Regions from separate parts of the Homo sapiens genome. Here region 2 is linked to region 1. Evidence: promoter capture Hi-C in human tissues and cell types (Jung and others, 2019). All regions are on one chromosome and are shown on one strand. The core of a region is centred on a gene start or on the middle of the fragment in contact, and the rest is flanking DNA. Distances in the headings are between cores, read along the strand shown. Region 1 holds the start of DDI1 (DDI proteasomal shuttling factor 1). Region 2 overlaps PDGFD (platelet derived growth factor D).

Region 1 (6,505 bases), core at 2,536-5,035:
AAAAATTTAATTATATTCTTATATTGTACTTACTAAGGGAGAAAAGTAAGGGAGTATACTTCACAAAGAATTCCTCAAGAAAAGTTTTGATAACCTCAGTTACTTAGATTTACATACCTCAATAATTCAGATAACCCATTTCTCAACAGACTACATGATAGGGATTTACGGTATAACAACAGTTTATGTTTAGGGGTGTGTGTGTGTGTGTGTGTGTGTGTAATATATTTTATATATATATATATTTCCAATTACCTCCAAGTTCATTATACAGTCAGAAGAGGTTTTCATTTAAAATTCTGAGTTGGGACAATTATACATATGGTATTTGAATCACAAATCATGCTGGGTAAAATGAAAGAATCAAATGATGTATACACAGAAGTACTAAACACAGGAGGCTGTGTTTACCTTTACAGATTCCAGGCTGTTTTGCAACAGATATAAGGGGTGGATGGGTGGCTGGACTATGGAATCCAAGGGATCCCTGCCAACCCTGACATCCTGTGACCAATGAAATGATGACAGCTCATTGGCCAGACCTTGAGGCTTTTTGCTTTCCAGTGTCTGTTCTCAGTAAAAGGTAAAATGCTGAAAAACAAATAAATGTAAAGTGCCACCCAAAGTAAAAAAATTACAGTGAGATAATAAAACACATCACATAGAATTTAAATATGTTCAGTATGAAGGCAATGGTATAGAAAAAAAGATGTTAGTTTCTTTTCATGTGAACTCACAATTTTTGCTTTATGAAAAACAAAAGGAAGCTTATTCTACAAAAATAATTTCATTTGCTATTAAAAAAAACAAAAGCCCCAGTATAATCCTCCTCGCTATGGTTTTAAGAACAAATTGTACAAAGCTATTTGGGGAAAAAAGATAAAGGAAAACTGAATTAAAGTCTTACTGGTTTCTCAATCTGTTCTTTAGCAGAGTAGTTTGCATGTGACATCTCACATGATAATTGTTTCCAAACTCAGGGGAAAGCACTAGTAATCTCTGATAAACTTGTCAGGGTGCAAAGAACCATAACATAATATTATTGAGTCAAAGGGTCATTCATTCATCTGTAAAAATGGTGAAAATTACAATGCTAGATTTTTTTTCTTAAAATTAAAAAATAATCCTTATATGATGAAACACTGTCTTTCCAGTTGAAAGCTCTAAGTCAGGTCATCTTCCTTCTCACCTTTGTGTCTCCACTCTGGCGCACCCTGCATGGCTGACTCCTTGTCATCTTTCTAAACCCAGTTCTTTCAGGATGTCTTCTCTCCCCAACATCCCTCACCATCTTCTTCATCTCTTCTTCAGATATTATTAATTTCTCCTGAATACCACTACTGTGGTATTTTTTACCCTTCAATTTGTGTGTGTGCATGTGCTCTAATTTAGACTGTGAGCTCCTTTAAGAATACAGCCTATATTTAACATTATTCACGTCTGTTTCCCTAGAACTTAGCACATGCTTCACATACACTGGGCGTTCAGTCAACATTTCTAATATAAGCAAATATGAGTATAGAAACATTATGATAATTAGAGCAGTGAGCGAGACATAGTCTTCCATCTGAGACAAATACATGAGAAACAGGAGCCAAAAAATAATTATTTAGGCTGATGTGACTTCCTTCTCTCCATAATGGAATAATGGTGTAACAGTGCAGGCCTTCTAACAACCCTTCAAAGAAGGGGGTGAAACTAGGCAGAGGATATCGACTATCTTGGTTCATAAGTAGGTACACCTGGGAGTACCAAGCCAGGGAAACATGAGCTCTGCACAGTGCAAAACACTTTTTTTTTTTTTTTGAGATGGAGTCTCGCTCTGTCACCCAGGCTGGAGTGCACTGGCGCAATCTCGGCTTACTGCAAGCTCCACCTCCAAGGTTCATGCCATTCTCCTGCCTCAGCCTCCCGAGTAGCTGGGACTACAGGCGCCCACCACAACGCCTGGCTAATTTTTTGTATTTTTAGTAGAGACAGGGTTTCACCATGTTAGCCAGGATGGTCTCGATCTCCTGACCTCTTGATCCGCCCACCCTGGCCTCCCAAACTGCTGGGATTACAGGCATGAGCCACCGCGCCAGGCAGCAAAACACTTTATTAAACATAGAGAAAAATAACTGGCATGCAAGGATTTCTACCCAATCATCATTTGCCTTGAAGGACTTTTCACCATGACAGCCTTGTATGTGTGTGTGTGTAAGTGGGGGTGGGGGAGAGTAGGGAGAAGGTGGCTGTGCCCAAATGTCAGAGAGAGGCATATTGGCCTCTAGGGTGGCATCCTTAATGAATTTTCCTACAGAACTGATGTCAAATGGGTCACCTCAAAGGTTCATCTCACTCATTCATTCATTCCCCTTCAAGGCAATGGCCCATCTACCCTATATCCCATTTTAGAGACCCTCTGTGTTATCCACACATTCCACTTTTTTACACTCCCCACCTCCAAGGGGTATGCACACTCTGTCCATTTTACTCAAGAAACATGTTTATTCTCTACTGCTTTGGCTTTGGGCCTCCTGACTTTCCACACTCTAGCAACAGCTCCCTCTTTGAACCACTGGAAAAGCCTCCTGACTGGCCCTCCTGCCACATTATGTCCTCCATGTGTTGCAAGAAGCCTCTTCCTTAAGTCAATTTAAAAAAAAAAATCACAAACACCTGCTTCAAATCTTTTCCCTTTCCTTTCCTTCCTTACTTCTTTTTCTTTTTTTTTTTTTTTTTTTTTGGAGGAGGAATTCTTGCTAATTGATAATATTTAATATTTAAACTCCGTAGATTCACATATGACTTCATCAATTGGCTCAACTAATTTTTTTCCAGCTTCATATCCTGGTATTCAAAGTCATGTACAATTTTTTTATTGCACAAAATGTCTCATCTTTCTCTAGAAATAACAGCCCTTGCCATAAATTCCTGCTTTTGTAACATGAAACTGCTTTCCTTTGGAGTGAGACCACTTTGCACCTGGAAGATGCTCATCCTTCAACATCCAGCTTGTCTCCTCCTTAGGAAAATATCCTCTGTTCTGTTGGTGATACTAAAGGCAGTACCCTGAACATGTCTTTGTAAAAGATTTTGCCTTTAGTATTGTGATTACCCATTCACCTGTCTATCCCTTTCCAGAAATGTGAGCTCCTCAAGGGCAGGCTCCAAATCTGACTTTCCTACTATGCACATAGAATGGTACTTGCCATGTAAGAAACAAATCCTTACTGTTTGGGGAAAAAACAAAAGTACAAAGAATACAACTCTAAAATGAACAAAACAAATGATAATATGCTGTTTAGAAAGTGTTGAAAAACTAGGCATGGTGGCTCACACCTGTAATTCCAGCACTTTGGGAGGCCGAAGTGTGGGGGATTGCTTGAGCCCAGGAGTTGGAGGCCAGCCCGGACAACACAGTGAGACCCCAAATCTATTAAAAAAAAATACAACAATTAGCCGGGCATGGTAGACTGTGCCTGTAGTTCCAGCTTTTCAGGAGGCTGAGAGAGGAGGACTGCTTGAGCCTACGAGGTCGAGGCTACAGTGAGCTGTGATTATGCCACTGTACTCCAGCCTGGGTGACAGGATAAGATCCTGTCTCAAAAAAAAATGTGTTGAAATCATTTCTTTCATATCATGTGTTAAATAGGCTTTGAAGGGCTGGCCTTGAAACCTGACAGCTTTGAGCCATCGTGTATCCATGGGAGTAGGCATTCTAGGTTCCAAACAGCACACTTAGAAATGGACTTTGGAACACAACGTGCTACCTCAAGGCTCCACCTGGCCACACAGCAGGCACTGAGGCTGGGAGACAGCCCCCAGACAGATGAGTGTCCGCGCCTCTCTGAGAGGTGAATGAGCCCGGACGGTCCCTACCTACCAAGTCCTGAGGAGCAGCGGCACCAACGACGCAGGCCCGCCCCAGCCCGCCAGTGAGCCGCCCATGCCCTCTGCTAGCCCGGCCCGCCCGGGCCCCCGCCATGCTGATCACCGTGTACTGCGTGCGGAGGGACCTCTCCGAGGTCACCTTCTCTCTCCAGGTCAGCCCCGACTTTGAGCTCCGAAACTTCAAGGTCCTCTGCGAAGCGGAGTCCAGAGTCCCCGTCGAAGAGATCCAGATCATCCACATGGAGCGACTCCTCATCGAGGACCACTGTTCCCTGGGCTCCTACGGCCTCAAAGATGGCGATATCGTGGTTTTACTGCAGAAGGACAATGTGGGACCTCGGGCTCCAGGGCGTGCCCCGAACCAGCCTCGTGTAGACTTCAGTGGCATTGCGGTGCCTGGGACGTCCAGCTCCCGTCCACAGCACCCTGGACAGCAGCAGCAGCGCACACCCGCTGCCCAGCGGTCACAGGGCTTGGCGTCAGGAGAGAAGGTGGCCGGCCTGCAAGGTCTGGGCAGCCCCGCCCTGATCCGCAGCATGCTGCTCTCCAACCCCCACGATCTGTCCCTGCTCAAGGAACGCAACCCTCCCTTGGCGGAAGCCCTGCTCAGCGGAAGCCTTGAGACCTTTTCTCAGGTGCTGATGGAGCAGCAAAGGGAAAAGGCCTTGAGAGAGCAAGAGAGGCTTCGTCTCTACACAGCCGACCCACTGGATCGGGAAGCTCAGGCCAAAATAGAAGAGGAAATCCGGCAGCAAAACATTGAAGAAAACATGAATATAGCGATAGAAGAGGCCCCCGAGAGTTTTGGACAAGTGACGATGCTCTACATTAACTGCAAAGTGAATGGGCATCCTTTGAAGGCTTTTGTTGACTCGGGCGCCCAGATGACCATTATGAGCCAGGCTTGTGCCGAGCGATGTAACATCATGAGGCTGGTGGACCGACGGTGGGCTGGGGTTGCTAAAGGAGTGGGCACACAGAGAATTATTGGCCGTGTTCATCTAGCTCAGATTCAAATTGAAGGTGATTTCTTACAGTGCTCTTTCTCCATACTTGAGGATCAACCCATGGATATGCTTCTAGGCCTAGATATGCTCCGGAGACATCAATGTTCCATCGATTTGAAGAAAAATGTGCTGGTCATCGGCACCACTGGCACGCAGACTTATTTTCTTCCTGAGGGAGAGTTGCCCTTATGCTCTAGGATGGTAAGTGGGCAAGATGAGTCTTCGGACAAGGAAATTACACATTCAGTCATGGATTCAGGACGAAAAGAGCATTAAAGCACGTTATAAATATGTTACCACCTTGAGGGAGCCTCAGGTCCCCGGCAATTATAAGTTAAGAGCTTACTGGCAATGTAATCATTAAAAAACATCAGTAACAACTAAACCTGGCCTTGGGACTACGTTCTCAGATGGGTAACTAACGTCAATCCTGATTCCTTGGTCTTGGTCCCTCTTCCATTTCCCTTGTCCAGAGATCACTGAAAGGCATCCTGGGAAGGCTCTGGAGGCTCCAGCTGATTTCCAGATAATCCATGAAAAAGAAAACCAGCTTCTTCCTTTAGAGACACTATCCTATCAGATTACAGGTGGCTTATCCAAATCATTGCTATTTTGCAGAATTCCCTGGAAAAATGCTATGGCTGCAGACCTTACAAGGCATCCACATAAAACTATTTCACATCAGCACTAATAATTCTTTCTACTGAGAGAAATATGCCCATTTTCACAGGTTTTGTTTTCTTTGGGAAGGGTATTAGAAATGGTAGGTCAGTTACACTATGATGTTAACTAATACTTATACATGTCTGTTTGGGGCAGCATAAAGACCAATTTCCTCATATTTACACCTTCCCTTCCCCTGGATCCCCTGCAGTCACCCTGCAATCCACAGCTAAAGACTATTTTTGCCATATTTGAGAAAGTGGATTTATCTCCAAGGATGCTACATTAATTTTCTATTTCTCCTGCATTCAAAGAAACTCTGGCTATAAAACAAAGGCAATAAATTAGATTTTTTAAAAAAGAAATTATGGTACTTCTTGGGAGTCAAGTTGTACAGTGGTGGGAATGAGAGGTGGGGACAGGCAGTGGTCCAGGTTCTCTAATAGTCATTGCAACTAGATCATCTCTCTCTCTTTTTCAAAGTAAAAATCTGCTTTATACATTAAGCTGCTGCTACATCAGTATTGTTTGAACAAAGGTTTTCACTGTTAAAATAACATTTGAAAACTTTTGAATGAGAAGATCTCTAAGGCCTCATTCAGAATTATCCATTCTGACAATGTTAGTGTTTATTACAACTGACAGTGGGTAATGGAAGATCCTAGACTTAATTACAACCCATGGCTAAAGCACCTGAGAGAAAAGTTTCAGCTTCCTGAGGCCATCAGATGCAGGGGAAATGTTTCAGGACAATAATTTATCAAAACTAGTATTAAAACAGCGGATTCAAAATCAAGATGTGTATGTTTTGATTACACTTAATTACTTAGACAAATTAGTTCACCTACTTTACAACTGAGATTCCTCACCTAATAATTTTTTTTTTCCTGGGAGGGGTCACTTTTCAAGCACTAAAACCTCATTATCTTAAAGGATCTGGGATATCCTTTAAGTTATTC
Region 2 (6,505 bases), core at 1,559-4,058, 89 kb before region 1:
AATCAAGGTCCAAAGGTTGCTAAGTGATTTGATGATCATCTGCTCTCAGAGTAACAGTCCCTCTTCACACAAGTAAGAGGCTTTAAAGCATTAATCTACCATTGGTATAACTCAGGAGCAGTTTTCAAATATTCCCTGTAGGGAAAAGGGAGTCAAGGGAGTTGGGTGAGAGGGTGAAATAGACCGATGAATGTGTCAGGCCAGCTCCATTTTTTTTTTCTTTTACAAGAAACCATACATCTAATTTTCAGTCATCCTTGTTAAAATAAGTTCTGAACAAACCTTTCCTGCCATGCTACATTCATTACCTTATGAGTCCACTCTGTATTCTGTTCAGGTGTATCCAGGTAATAATGATCATTTATCTGGAGGCACGGTCTTTGTCATACATTACGGAAGAATCCAGAGATTTAATCACAGTTCAAGCCATGTTAAAGATGTCCTCTACAGTCATATTGTTGATATTATATAGCTCTCATCTGGGTGCAGCCATATTTGTTCCTTCTGTTTCTGATAGGTTGTCCCTTTAATCTACGTGACTGTGTGTGGGTGTCTGTGTCTGTGTGTGTCTGCTTGATACGAGCTGAACCCTGACTGACACACATCATTTCTGTCTTTCACATCTCTCTTGAGGTCACATGCTAGAGGTGGAAGACTTATAATTCAGGACTATAATTCCAAATCGCCATTAACTTGTATTGTCGGATAATCTACAGTCTATCTGGCTAACATGCACCAGATGGTTTACAAGCAGCCTTGTGTCACAATAGTGTGGTTCTAAGAACCACAAAACTCAAAATGAGCTGACGAAATTAGAAGCATGGCAGCACATAAAAAATCTTTGAAATTAAAATGCTTCCCTCATTTTTGAAATAAAAACAGGGACACCGATCAAGTCATTCCCACGCCAGTGAAAGCTTCTTGTGACAGCTCTGGGGAAAGTGGCTGCATGGAGTTCTCCAGGGTGGCTCCCAGCAGTGCCTAGAATGTAGTGTGTACACAGACATCTCTCTCAGAGAAAGCTGTGGGGAACTCTCAGTCCCTTAGAAGGGAGGGGGAAATTTAATCTCTTCTAACATGAGGCTGAAGAGTCAATCCAAACCATAGGTAAAATGCAAACATGTCCCTATGTATGAGCTTTACTGCTGTTTTCAAGTTTTGATTTAGGGCAGTTGACAGAAACAACAACGACAGCTGAGGAAATATTTATGAATGATGAGGTGACCTAATAAGACTACAAGAACATTTTGGTTTCTGAGGTAAATATTTTAAAACTATTTTTGAGAAAAAGAACTAATTTAATGTGTCTCCTTCAGCTGAACAGTAAATATGATTTCATTCAGCTTTTGTCACGTATTTATAAAAATCAATTCTGAAGTTAACTGCATTAATTTAAAATGATAACAATTTGTAAAAAAGAAATGCTCTGGAAATGCAAAACCACTTTCAACAAAAACAAAGTATGGTTTAAACAGAAGTCAATGGTAGGTCCAATGACCCCTGCTCCTGCTCCAGAAAGTTCTTGAACAATGGAGTGCTGAGTAAAGAAACTAGCTTGGTCTTACAAGAGAGTTAAGCAGCACCTAGACTTGAAACTCAAACGAGAAGCTTTTGCAGTGGATTTGGACCCAGGGAACTTCCCCAGATACTCCAAAAGGATGAGACAATGCCTCTCTTTTAAAGGACCTGGGTTATTCTTAATTTGTTGAAGGTCCTTTAAGGCTTGTAATTCTGTGGTTGGAGCAAGAATCATTAGACAACCCTGAGCTATCATGTCGAAGGTGCCTGAGAAGCTGCAGCATCCCATGACCCTCAGTCAAGGTTGCAAAAACTGCTGGTGTCTGCCTTGAGTTATCAGCCTCTACTGTGACCCTCCTGCTTAGCCTGAGCACCTCTTCAGCATATCTGCCTTGTGTTGACTTTCATCTAATTGATAATGATTGCCTACACCAAGTTAGGTTCAGAGCATGTATTCTGGACTGTTGAAAGCACACAAAACACTTATTATCACTGTCAAAGATCTCTCCAATCTTTTGATCAGATGAGGTTCTAGTCCAGCATCCATACCAGGTGAATTAAATAGCCACATAATTCATAGTGGAGGGAATCCTGCCATATGAAAGAGTTTTTAAAAAATCCTCCAGAGAGCAAAAGATAACATACCAATTTTAGGAAAAAAAACAACAACTCTGACTCAGCCACACGGACCTACTCAGAACCATGGGCAAGCTTTCTCTATGTTCTTGACCTTTTAGTAAACAACTGCATTTATTATCTTGTATTTTATTGCTACATAAGTGCCACACATAGGATTGGTGAAAACAAGGTCTGTTCTTTCTGTGCAAAGTAGATAAGGAGACTGAATACTGAGAAATGACTAAGTTTAGAGAAAAACTGGAGCATGAACCATTTTACAGCTTCAGGGTGAGTTATGTTTTATATCCAAGTAAAATAGAATACATGCCTGATTTGCACTTATTATCTTACTGTAAACATTGGGATTTTTCAAGTCTGAAAAGACCCTTGAAAATGCAAAGGTTAACGTCTTCCCCAGGAATATTCGAAAGCTATTTTGAAATTCCCCACTTGAGTGTGGGCCATGAACTAGTTTGATATGTTTGATATGTTTGGACAGACCTTTAATTGGAATGCTCTGCTCTGAAAATGAAAAATATTTAAGTTATTACCTAGTGTGAGTTCCTACCATGCTATACTGGCAGTTCCTGGAAACATTTCTGACAGACAGGGAAAAGGGTTTCTGACATAATCCATTGTAACCTGAATGAAATGGAGAAACACATCCTGTTTGAGATCTAGCTTTTGATCAAGCCACAGGTCCTTAATGCAGGTGAAGTCCTTTTGGGGTTGACCTTAGCTGTTCCATCCGTTTCTTTTGCTGGCAACAGAGTAATAAATTACTTACTGAAATAGAGCTTGTGACAGATTCCCAGTTGGTCTCTGAAGCTGCTGCGGGTTGGAAATCTTCCTGGAAGGCAAAGAAACATCTGTGAGTCAGTCAAACCTCTGTTCAATTCATTATGTGCACAGTTTCAACATCTCAGCCTTCTGAATCTTTTTCCAACTAAGTGACAACAGACATAGGGCTATATTCCTGCTGAACAGGTCACCATTTGTCTTAAGCACATCTCCTCAAGAACCCTTCTCATTTAAGACATGGACATTTTCTTGTAAGTACTGGTGAAATGGAAAAGGCACAGGAAGGAATGCAAATTTTAACTTGGCCATCTACTGGCTGTGTGACCACAGACAACTGACAACCCCTCCAGTCCTTCCTTTCCTCAGCTAGTATGGAATCCTTACATTATAGGGCTGTTTTAAGAATTAAATGCATTAATTATGTAATTACCAATGGCACTGAATAAAGTGTTTGATAAAGAATAATAATAATTATCATTATTGACATATAGTTGGTTTAAACTAGGTTACGCATTATGTTCAATCTTGCCTGCTGACCTGGTCCAAAATATTGGTGATCTTTTCAACGATACACTAACTTCCAAGGGGTTGTTCCTGACTATATCAACAAATATAAGGAAGGATGGCAGGGGAAGAAAATGACTGGTAGTGACTAAGTACTGCCCATTTGGGGAAGGAAGGTCAAGGGCAGACTTGAAAACATTAGTTATCTCAGATAAGCCTTAGTGGATGTGTGATAGCAATAGATCACACAGAAAAAACTTCTCTTAAAAGGCAAACTTGTCTCCCATTTGTATGTGACCTCCATGTTAATTACTACAGCACCAGGAAGTTTAAAAAACATTAAGGGAAGGAAAACTAATTCTGTCATTTTTACAATCCACAGATGGCTTTCTGACCTTGCTAAAATAAATCACTTTAGCAAATATTTTCCAGCCTTACCGAGGAGTGGGAGGTGTTTTGAGAGGATGCTGAGAAATGTTCAGCCACTCTAGTCTGACAGCTTATTTATCCAAGTATACCTACTGAATGAGAGCTTAGTATCAGGTGTAAATTTCATTAACATTTTGAGGAGCTGGAAGTACATTTGTTAATTGGTTATGATGAGGCTGGTTTATATATAAATTTCCTGTGTTTAATAAAATTTCAGCTGATTACTGAGAGAGAACCGAGTCAAATGCGGGGTTCAAAAAATGAACAAATATTAGAAACTGACTAGATGATGGGTTGATAGGTGCAACAAACCACCATGTATCCCAGAACTTAAAGTAAAAAAAGAAAGAAAGAAAGAAACCGACTAGACATCATTATTTTAGTCACTTTTTTTTTTTTTTTTTTTTTTTTTGAGACCGAGTCTCACTCTGTCACCCAGGCTGGTGTGCAGTGGCGTGATCTTGGCTTACTGCAACCTCTGCCTCCCAGGTTCAAGCAATTCTCCTGCCTCAGCCTTCCTAGTAGCTGAGATTACAGGTGTGCACCACCACACCCAGCTAATTTTTGTATTTTTAGTAGAGATGGAGTTTCACCATGTTGGCCAGACTGGTCTTGAACTATTGACCTCAGGTGATCTACCCACCTCGGCCCCCCAAAGTGCTGGGATTACAGGCATGAGCCACTGGGCCCGGCCTCGTTATTCTAATCTTAATCCTAGGGAAGATAGAAAAGAAGCAGGAAATGTGGTATCTGCACTCTGCAAAACAGAATAGACACTAAAAGGACACTGAATTCCCACAGCGGGAAGATGTGTATAATCAAATGAAGGCTGGCATTTATATGAGTCTTCATAAGTCGGTGAGCACATAAGACTAGGCAAGAAGCCAGAGAGCCAGTGGCTTCTCCATTCCTTGATGAGACTATTGGTGGAGGACATATGCCAGGTATGGTAATGACAGGAGCAATCCTCACATTACAGAATTTTCATTTTCCCTTGTTCATTCAATATTTGTTAATCACCTGCTATTAATACTTTCTGAGCTGTGGGTAGGATCATGAGGAAATAAAAACTATCCCTACCCTCAAGGAATTCGAAACGTAAACACACAAATAAACACGTGCAGTAAACGCATGTGGGTGCTCTGATACCAGTCTACTCAGCATGCCATGGAAGGTAGTAATAGGTGGTTGTACCTGGGGAGAAAGTGGGCTTGAAAAAATTTCACATAGGAAGCTGATTTGTTAGTAGAGTCTTGGAAGATAAATAGTTGCTTCTTGCAGAAAACGCGGGTAGAAGACTCAAAGGGAAAGCAATGCTTAGACAAGGTGAGGAAAGTATACAGAAAAATAAACAACTTACTGGGGAAACTATGAGTCATGTTGGGCATAGTGCGTTTGAGAAGCCTACACTATGTACAGATGGAGATGTTCGGGGGGAAGTTTGCTACATGAGAATGGACCGCATGAGAGAGAATGGACCACATGTGACCTTGAGATATAGATTTGGGAAGTATCAACACAAAAATGCAATTCAACAAAGTAAAGGGTTATGTTGACCATGTGTTAAAATCAGAAGAGGGACAGTTTTAAAATCTTGGAACTGGAAATAGTTTTAGAATTATCTAGTCCAATCTCCTTATTTAAACAATAAGGAAACTGGCCAGGAGTGGTGGCTCACGCTTGTAATCCCAGCACTTTGGGAGGCCAAGGCAGGTGGATCACTTGAGGTCAGGAGTTCAAGACCAGCCTGGCCAACATGGTGAAAACTCATCTCTACTAATAATACAAAAAAAAAAAAAAAAAAAATTAGCCAGGTGTGGTGGCATGTACCTGTAATCCCAGTTACTCAGGAGGCTGAGGCAGGAGAATTTTTAAACCTGGGAGGCGGAGGTTGCAGTGGGCCAAGATTGCACCATTGCACTCCAGCCTTGGCAACAAGAGCGAAACTCTGTCTCAAAAGAAAAAATAAATAAATAAATAAATAAATAAGAAAATGAATGCTTAGAGAGATAGATGATGTGTTCTGTATCATGTACCCATTTTCTGGCAAAGCTAAGGCCACCAAAGCTCATTTCTAAGTAGAAACTGTGTGGTTGGTGACCTTCCACAGTGTTACAGCTGCCTTGGATAATGTGTGTATGGGGAGAAAAACGATGAAACAGTTTCCAAAAGGGGAATCAACAGAGCAGGAAACGCATATAGTTGAAGCTGAGTGCTGGTGGGTGGTTCTATGAGGACACCCTTTGAAGTAGCCTTAGTTATTTAGATTTCATATCTATCCTTAGTAAATTCTGTGATTTCAGTTCATTTCCTTGCATAGACACATGGTAAAAATATTTTGCTAAGATTTTTTTAAGCAGAAAGGGACTTTGGTGCACAAGCCCCTAAACAAATGTTACACAAGAACTTTTAGCTTCTTCACTGTCTGGGCTACAGGATTCCAGTTTGAAATTTTAATAAGAGCAAATGATAAAAGATTTCATTAAGTCCCAGATAAAACATAACTTTATCTTCTCTTAGCAATACAAATGTTAGACACTGAAAAGAAACCAACTTTTGTGTTACTTCAGAAGTTTACCATTACTTATAGATGACATATTTAAATTAAGCTTATAAAAAGGAATGACATCCCTTA

What was found. The method cuts DNA at HindIII sites, captures the fragments that hold promoters and counts their contacts. A contact is called where the count stands out against the background at its distance.
Region 2: a fragment that was not itself captured here is called in contact with the fragment with the promoter of DDI1 in region 1 in 2 of the 25 tissues and cell types used here (spleen and stomach).

The regions. Positions count from the first base shown.
Region 1 is chr11:104,032,855-104,039,359 of GRCh38, forward strand. It overlaps DDI1 (DDI proteasomal shuttling factor 1), which reads left to right and starts at 3,786. Exons shown (of 1, transcript NM_001001711.3): 1 at 3,786-6,342. The coding sequence starts at 3,969. The coding sequence ends at 5,159. All of the region lies in intron 1 of PDGFD (platelet derived growth factor D), which reads right to left. The HindIII fragment of the contact is 14,414 bases long and covers 1-6,505 here.
Region 2 is chr11:103,944,739-103,951,243 of GRCh38, forward strand. PDGFD (platelet derived growth factor D) reads right to left here. Exons shown (of 7, transcript NM_025208.5): 4 at 2,924-2,986. Among named protein-coding and RNA genes, the nearest start is that of PDGFDDN, 41 kb to the left of the region's middle. The HindIII fragment of the contact is 3,092 bases long and covers 1,263-4,354 here.